Regions from separate parts of the Homo sapiens genome. Here region 1 is linked to region 2. Evidence: promoter capture Hi-C in 16 types of primary human blood cells and fetal thymus (Javierre and others, 2016). All regions are on one chromosome and are shown on one strand. Each heading gives the region's core, a stretch centred on a gene start or on the middle of the fragment in contact. The rest is flanking DNA. Distances are from core to core; before and after follow the strand shown. Region 1 has its middle 14 kb from the start of RAD18. Region 2 holds the start of SRGAP3-AS3 (SRGAP3 antisense RNA 3).

What was found. Contacts are between HindIII fragments. The CHiCAGO score rates a contact against its expected background, and 5 or more counts as called.
Region 1: a contact is called between a fragment that was not itself captured here and the fragment with the promoter of SRGAP3-AS3 in region 2, in 1 of 17 cell types (M0 macrophages). The highest score is 5.5, in M0 macrophages.

The regions. Positions count from the first base shown.
Region 1 is chr3:8,975,022-8,979,623 of GRCh38, forward strand. No RefSeq gene overlaps it. Among named protein-coding and RNA genes, the nearest start is that of RAD18, 14 kb to the left of the region's middle. The HindIII fragment of the contact is 1,384 bases long and covers 2,175-3,558 here.
Region 2 is chr3:9,214,014-9,218,227 of GRCh38, forward strand. SRGAP3-AS3 (SRGAP3 antisense RNA 3) reads left to right here and starts at 2,882. Exons shown (of 5, transcript NR_103443.1): 1 at 2,882-2,976; 2 at 3,349-3,463; 3 at 3,718-4,214. All of the region lies in intron 1 of SRGAP3 (SLIT-ROBO Rho GTPase activating protein 3), which reads right to left. The HindIII fragment of the contact is 5,796 bases long and covers 1,392-4,214 here.

The DNA.
Region 1 (4,602 bases), core at 1,617-4,116, 240 kb before region 2:
TAAGGGCAATGAAGAAAATAAAACATATTAACCTCATGGTGACTGCTTTAAGCAAGGAGGTCAGGGGAGGTGTCTCTGAGGCAGTGAGGAGTGGTTGGGAGACCTGATACTAGGTTCTCTGGGTATCAGAGGAAGGTCCCAGGCCTTTTTAGCCACCCCACAAATCCCAGCCTGGAGTCCAGTATGGAGCCGGCCCCGGGCCTCCAGTGTGAGGCTGACCTGCTTTCTGGGGTGGCTGAAAAGGCCTGGGAAGTTCTTGTCCTCTCTCTGCCTCTTCTTGGCATCCCTTTATTTAAACACAAACCTCCACTCACTGCCCAAAAGAAAACTGCCACTTCTGCTGCTTCCAGGGGCAGCAGTGGGGGCGTGTTGAGGAGGATGTAAGGTGTTGGGGGTTGGGGGGTTCTGGGCGGGGGGGTCTCTTACTCCCGCCTCACCCCCATCCTTCTCCACAACCCTCCACTGCAAAAGCTCCTCTTCAGGCTACTCCAAGGCCATGCCTCGCTGCTTGCACTGAGGCAGCAGTGGGGTCCTTTCTAGACTTCCCTGCTTAGGTGTGGAGGCAATTGTCTGGCAGGCTGTTCCTAGGAGGCCTTTCCCCAACCCCCGCACAGCTCTTTCTCTAGGGAATTTCCCAACATAAAATGCTCCCTCGTGTTAGAGGCAGGATCTGACCCTTGGCTGCAGCCTGGGGCAGGATGGCCTGGTGAAACCCTGTATCCATCCTTGCTCCTTCTTTGGGGGCTGTGTGAGCAGCCGATGACCACCCACCCCACCACAGCACCCCCCATGCCAAGGGGGCGCAAACTCCCTCTGGGTGAGGTATCTTGGGTCAAACACTCCCAGTTTGGTGAAGCTGTCTGTTTCAGATCACACCCAGTGTCCTGCCTCATCCTCAGGCCTAAGAGAGAGAATGGAGACCCAGCTCCAGAGTGAGACTGCCTAGTTCTGAACCCCAACTCCGTGATGCCTAAGTAGTGTGTCCCATGGCAAGTTACTTAGCCTGTCTGTACTATTTCCTCGTAGGTTAAGCTGGAGTAACATTAGTATCTGCTTTAAAGGGTGGTTGAGAGGACTAATGAGTTGGCCTTTATATGTGAAGGGGCTTAGAACACAGTAAGTGCTCTAACAGGTTGGCTATTATCATTCTGTCTACTTTTTCCTTTTTTTTTTGAGACAGAGTCTCGCCCTGTTGCCCAGGCTGGAGTGCAGTGGCACAATCTCAGCTCACTGCAACCTCCACCCACTTGGTTCAAGTGATTCTCCTGCCTCAGTCTCCTAAGTAGCTGGGACTACAGGCATGCACCACCACACCTAGCTAAGTTTTCTATTTTTTGTAGAGACGGGGTTTCTCCATGTTGGCCAGGCTGGTCTTGAGCTCCTGACCTCAAACAATCCCCCTGCCTCAGCCTCCCAAAGTGCTGGGATTACAGGCGTGAGCCCCTTTTTTGTTTTAATTGCAAGAAGCAGAAATCGCACTCAAGTTACACCAGGTAAGGAGGGCTTGAATGTAAGGTCTCCCAGTGAGGAATAGGCACTGGGGCAGGTACTCAACCGGGGGTTCTGGCTCTCTCTAGGGACTGGATGGCTTTGCTCTCGAAGCCTGTGATCTCTGCCATTGGCTTTGCCCATTGGTTTTGTCACTGTGCTCTCAGAGTCTCATCCCTAGTGACGTCAGCCTCCCTATGGTGCAGAAGGGCCACCTCTCTGCCTCCGACCTCCTCGTTGTTGTGGGCTCTCATCTTCTGGTCTCCTGCTTACAGGGCCTGTCATTTTGTTACTTCTGGGTCAAGCTTCCCAAGAAAGGTCATCTGCAGGTCCAGCTTTGCCAAGGGCCATGGTGACTAACCAATCTACCATCAACTGCTGTTGCATCAGCTGCCATCCTTGGCTCAATCCAATGGAGTCAGGGGGTAGGGTAGCACAATATCAAACATGGTCGTTAAGGGAGTTCCCTTTAGAAAGCAGAGGGGATGTGGTGGGGCTGGTGGCCCTCCCCTATGTGTGCTTCTGCAGCCTTCAGCCAAGGCACTGAGTGAGCCCTCAGAGCTGGAGGAAATAATCAAGGTCAGCTTCCCCAACCCCCTTGTTTTACAGATGAGGATACTGAGGCCCAGACAGGGGAAGAGACATTCCCCAAATCTGGTAGCCAATGAATGGCAGAATCCCACTGAAGCTTTTTCCTTAGAGCTCCTTCGGTTCAGTCACTCATCAGATGCCCAACAACCTGCTCTTTCTGTCTGCAGAGCATGGAGATGAAGCAGAAACTCTTTAAGGAGCAGAAGCAACCATGGATGAACACAGCAGCCTTTGCTGATTGCCTGGATGGTCCAGGGATGTTACGTAGATCATCCACTCCAGACCGCAAACAACCCTGTGGAGCAGAGCCTTCTTAGCCCTGTGTTCCTGAGGAAATGGAGGCTCCAGGAGGTTTTGTCACTTGCTAAAGTCAACCAGCTGATACAAGCCGGTGCTGGGATCCACACTCAGATCTGTCTGAATCCAGAGCCTTTGCACTTACACCCATGACTGAAGCTCGTCCAAATCACCCAGCCAGTGTGAAGCATGGGAGTGGGAGATGCTTGGGGTGGGTGGAGGGAGAGTGGCTGGGGTCTAGGGAGCATGGGCCAGGGTCCAGGAAAGCCAGAGACCCTTTCTCTCCCTCAATGTGATCCTGGGACTTGGGACAAGCCCTGGATCTTCTCTGTTCCTCAGTTTCCCCATCTGTAAAATGAACATCCCATCTAATATAATTTATATGTTCTTGGGAGAGTTGGAGTAGAAAAAGGGGAAAATAGAAAATGTTCTCAACAACAGTAAAGACACATGTGGCACTAATGCAAGGAATCGATAGTAAGTATTCTCAATGTTAGGGCTTAAAAGAAATGGATGAGTAACAGAGCTATCATAGGTTCCTGAGAGAAGCTGAGATAGACCTTACTCCTAAGGTGGTTGTCAAGGCAAGCAGACCTCCCTGCAGCTAGGCATTTGGGGGCCATGGAATTCTTGCTGGCCTGAAAGTGCTTTAAGTCCCTGCATTTTGAACTCCCTGAGGATCAGTCTTCTCATTTATTAACTGGGGGTGCTAGCAGAATCTACTCCCACAAGTTGTTTGTAAGAATTCAATGAGGCAAGGCATGTGAAGTGCTTGGTAATGTGTCAACATACAGAATGCACTTGATGGATGTTAACTTTATTATTGTGAAGTCAATGTACAGTCCATGGACAAGGACAAAATTCTACATATTTGCGTGAGCATTTTTCTAGTGTATCAGTTAGCTATTGCTGCATAGCTAACTACCCTAAAACTGAGAGACTGAAAACCATCACCATTTATTATTTTTCATGGGCAGCCCCAAAATCTCCTTTGGGCAACTTGTATTCTTCCCTGATGCAAAGTCTTGGTGGGGTTGACACCACCCTTCAAAATACAGGTTGCTTAAGGCCATTTTTCTATTCCATCCCCTTGGTCTGCTTTTGGGATAAACCTGTGGCTTAATTCTGGTCAGTGAGAATCAGACCCAAGACTACTGAAGCTGAGGAGGTGCAGGTAGTGGAAGCTTCAGCAGCCACTGGGCAACCACAAAATATCAGACAAGCTGTCTGAGCATAAAGTCAACCCAGAGAGCTGAGCAGAGCCAACCTGAAAGAAGAGAACTGCACCCCGGAGACAACACTCACATCGTCACATCATCCTGGGTTTGAAGCCATTTCTAGACTGGAGTTTCCACCCATGTGAGCCAATAAATTCTCTTTTGCTTAGGGCTGTTTGGGTTGAATAGTTTGTCGTTTGCAAACAAAAAATTCCTAAACAGATGTGCAATGGACAATCCAGCAATGGTCTATGCTTTGTGGCTGACAAAATAGTCAAGTTGCTAAAATCTGCCCTTTGTGCCTCTGTGGGTTAGAGACACTGTTCTATTTATCATTGAGTAAAAGTCGATCTTAGAATTCTAGAGTGATCATTTTGTGCAATTAGACTGTATGCAACTTGAGGAAAGGAACTGGGGCTCATCATTCTGTGTCCCCAGCAGCTAACTTGAGGCAAGTTGCATAAAAAGGTGCTAAGGTGCTTCATACACGCTTGTTGAATGAATGAGAGGCTCCTGATTTGAAGCTTTCAAATGTGTACTGTTGCTATGAGCAAGTAAACAGATTATGGAACACATACAAAGTTTAGCCTCTTAGAAGGTTAGTAGTTTGAATGTGTCCCCCAAATTTATGTGTTGGAAACTTAATACCCAATGCAATAATCTTGGGAGAGGGCACCTAATAAGAGGTGACTGGTTCATGAGGGCTCCACCCTCATGAATCAATTAATGTCATTGCCATGGGCATGGGATTGTTATCATGACAGAAGGTTATAAAAGAGTCTGCCCCTCACACTGTCTCTTTTGCCCTTCTGCCTTCCACCATGAGATGGCCCTAGCCAGATGCTAGTGTCATGTTCTTGGACTTTCCAGCCTCCAGAACCATGAGCCAAATAAGCTGTTTTTCTTTATGAATTACCCAGTCTGTTCTATTCTGTTACAGCAACAGAAAATAGACTAAGACATTTTCATAGCAGAGGAGTCTGGAATTCGCAAGAGACCATCATTGAGT
Region 2 (4,214 bases), core at 1,632-4,131:
TTTATTTTCTTTGTAATGGTTACCATTATCTGAATCCGTCCTATTTGTTACTTAACCCTTTTATTGACAGCCTCCCTGTCTTCTGTCACCCCTACCCACCTCCAACACACACACACACACACACACACATGCACACACACACACAAGAATATAAGCTCATTTCCCACACGATCACTGGTAACCAGAACACAACAGAAGCTTAATAAATATTTTCTGAAGGAATTACAATAATTATAATTGCAAGACCCTTAACAGTTTGCAAAGAATACTCATATTCATTGCCTTATTTAACAATAGAAACAGTCATATGGGGCAGGTAGCATAACCCTTATTTACAGATGAGGAAGCAGTGATTCAGAAAGCCCAAGGAGCTTGCCGAAGGTCACACAGTAATAAAGAAGCCTGCTTTGCACAAACCCAGGCTTTCTGCCTCCGAGTCCAGGGTTCCTCCCTCGGTTTACTGTTAACATCCAACAGTGCTTCCCAGTCACTGAACAAAAACTTTTAAACACCAGATAAACAGCAAAGCAGTTACTTGCAGGACTAAGTTAAACTCCAAGACAAAAGAAAATAGGAAGCTATGAAACCATTTTAGAAATCACTGAAATAGACAATTATGTAAAATGAGCCCCTCTGAAATCCATGGATGGAGAAGCTGGAAGGCATCCAGATGTCCTATCTCGGTTTTGATCTGTGCTTATGGCATCCTTTGATTCAGATGAAGGACCAGGAATTTGGGGGTAAGAGAAATAAAAAGAGTGATGAAAAAGGCAGTATCTCTATCCAAGAGTTGCAAAAAGAAACTATGACTAATAAGGAAAATTCATTGTAGGAAACTAACCACACGCTACAGGAGGATGGATCAAATTTCTCACCCTTCAGACCAGAAAGTCAAAGGCACAACAAGCAAGCTGCATTTGAAACAATCTTCTGAGTCCTGGTTCAAAGAAAATGAGAGTCCAGTATTCCTGGGAGGATAAAGTGAGGTGGCCTTTGAGGAAGGAGAGCTAAGTGGTGGAGGGGGAAATTTACTTTTTACTCTACTTATAATATCTTTTATGTTTTGAATATGATACTGTGTGTCTATTTTACATATTCAAAAATGAACTGTATTTCAACAAACGATCAAAAGAAAGAGAATGAGAAGGTCTAGGAAGCAATTTCAGCAGGTCAGCTCTTCCCACTCCAGCCTCCTTGTTAGATTTTACCTTTTTCCACCCAATCCCAAAGGCGAGCAGCCCTTACTTTCGGCTCACTGAAATCTACGCTGTTCGGCCTTCAAATCCTGGAGCCACAGAGTTGAAAAAGACCACCTTTTCCAAAGCCCTCACTTTACAGATGGGGCCCAGAGGTGGGAGATTTTCTCAAGCCTCCCTCACTAGTTAGGAGGAAGCTTGGTATTTGAACACAGACCTCTGCCTCCCTCCCAGAGCTGTGGTCCTTCTGTGACCCAAGCTCCTCTCTGCTCAATGCTGATGCTTCATTTTAGGTATCAACTTGACTGGAATCAGGGACACCCAGATCTCTGGTAAAGCATTATTTCTAGGTCTGTCTGTGAGGGTGCTTCTGGAAGGCACTGGCATGTGAACCAGTGGACCCAGTAAGGAAGATCACTCATGTGGGTTGGCACCAGCCAATCAGCTGAGGCCCTGAATAGAACACAAAGGCAGAGGAAAGGCACACTGCTTCTCTCTCTTTCCTGGAGCTGGGGCATCCTTCTTCTCCTGCCCTTAGACATCAGAACTCAGGTCCCCCAGCCTTTGGACTCTAGGACTTGAACCAGCGGCCTCCCCTCAGTTTTCAGGCCTTTGGCCTTAGACTGAAAGCTGCACCATTGGCTTCTCTGGTTCTGAGACTTTCAGACTTACACTGGCCAACGCTCCTGGATTCCCTGGATCTCCAGCTTGTAGATGGCCTAGCATGGGACTTCCCAACCTCCATTATGATGTGAGCCAATCCCCCTAATAACTCCCCTCAGACAGATAGACACACAGATAGATAGGCATATACACACATACACATACACACATGTATACATATATATATGTATATATACTCTCCAGCTGGTTCTATCTGGAGGCCCCTGACTAATGCACACTCAGAGGGCCTGAGCACCAACTGTTAGTATGCACACTGCAGATGTATCAGCCCACCAGGTCATTCTCTTATGCTTTCCCTCTTCTGTGCTTCATCTTCTTACTTCCACAGACCCTTCTAGAACACTCAGGCCCTGCCTCTCACCTGGAGGCAGGACCATCCCCCACAAGGGGAATACAAAATTATGGGCATACGTTTTAAGTCAACACAATGACTGGAGAGTACTACCAGCATTTAACGGGCAGGGGTCAAGGTACTAAGCATCTGCAATATAAGGGACAGTCCCCACAGTGAAGAACTGCCCCACCCAAAACACCCTGTGGAGCAGCCACAGCCCGGTCCTCTCCGTATCGTTTCTCTGAACCGTCTCCCACCTTCCTCCTACACTTCAGGCTGGCAAAGCTGAATGGCCACAGAGCAGATACCCTAAGAAATGCTAGCCCAGTGCTCTCAGAAATAACTTCAACTCGATGGACTGTTGCAGTTACGCACTGTCACAAACAACGATTCTTACTTCAGTCCCACGTAGAGGACAGGCTCCGATGTAATGGATGAGGAAACGGAGGTACTGAGGGGCCAAGTCACTTTCCCGAGCCATGGCTAAAAACTGACAAGACCGCAGCACATGAGCCACACCACGGAAGCCACCCAAGTGTCCCTCCCCAGAGGAGCGGATGAACGTGATGCGGCCTCTACGCATACAATGGGATATTACTCCGCCTTAAAAAGGAAGGGAATTCTGACACACGCCTCAACACGGATGAACCCTGAAGCATTACGCTAACTAAACTACAGCAGACACAGAGGACAAATATTGTATGAGTCCGCTCACACGAGATGCCTAGAGGAGCCAAAACCACGGAAACAGAAAGTAGACTGGTGATTGCCAGGGAATGGGGGAGGAACAGGGAGTTCCTGTTCACTGGGTGCAGTTCCAGTCCTACAAGATGAAAAGTGTTCTGGAGATGGATGGTGGTGACGGTTGCACAACATTATCAATGTATTTAACGTCATTGAACTGTGCATTTAAAACGGTTAAGATAGTAAATTTTATGTGATGTGCTTTTCGACACAATAAAAAAAAATTGACAAGGCTGGCACTCGTTAACTGAGTTCCTAAATCAAAATCCACTCTCCTTAAATTATACCCCAGCCCTAAGGTCTAAATGAAAACATTGCTGCCTTTCCAATACATTGGGCTGTGAGAAATTTAACTACTTTAACTATTAATGGCCCAATCCTGTGCCACAGGGGCCTCATTGAGATGCCAGATTGCTTCTTCAAGACCCTCCAAGGGGGCACGTCAAATTCTGATGGGCCTCACCTTGGACAAGGCTGGGGTTTTTAGACCAGCTTTCACAGCCTGGTAAGACTCCCTCCTCCCCGCAAAAGGAAGGGGATCTACAGAGGGTGGCCAACTTTTCAAAGGGTATTCGGGGCAGGGAGAAGAACTACCTCAATTGTTTAAGAAAGGATAATTTCTGACACACACATACACACACACCACACCACACCACACGCAGGAAATGAAGACCATCATTTGTGTAATAAAGAGCAGGTCTTGAATTGTGTGCCATTAGGTTTATGAGAAAATGTCTACATTGTCCTTATTTTTTTCAGGTTGCTCCAGTGTCAAGACTGACAGTGATCCAGGGACCTTTAGGGCAGACAACTTCATTGTGACAGAATGAGACCTGTGGCCTTTGGACCTCGGTGGGGCCATATGTCACCCCTGCAGGCCCCAGGCCCCCCAAGCCACCAAGAGTCACAGAGGCAGGGAGGGGACAGGAGGAGATCTTGCCCCCACTGCATCTGGCTCTCCTGCCCTCACCATCCGCAGCAGGGGGTACACTACAGCTTCGGCTTTACAAACACAGGGAAAAAGCTAACACAACCTTTAAGCCGCATTAACAGGATCAAGGGATGTATTATTAGTCCTGCTAGCCTCCGAACCATTGAGAGTACTTCTGAAAGACAGTGCTTACTTAGCTTGGGCTCCAGATTTTAAGAGACCCGTTAATAATTTGGAAGGTTTATTAGCAGACTGCAGATCCAAAAATGGTCCTCCTCTATTTGGGAAGATATTGCAGGAAACAATGCTCTAGGAGAGACCACAG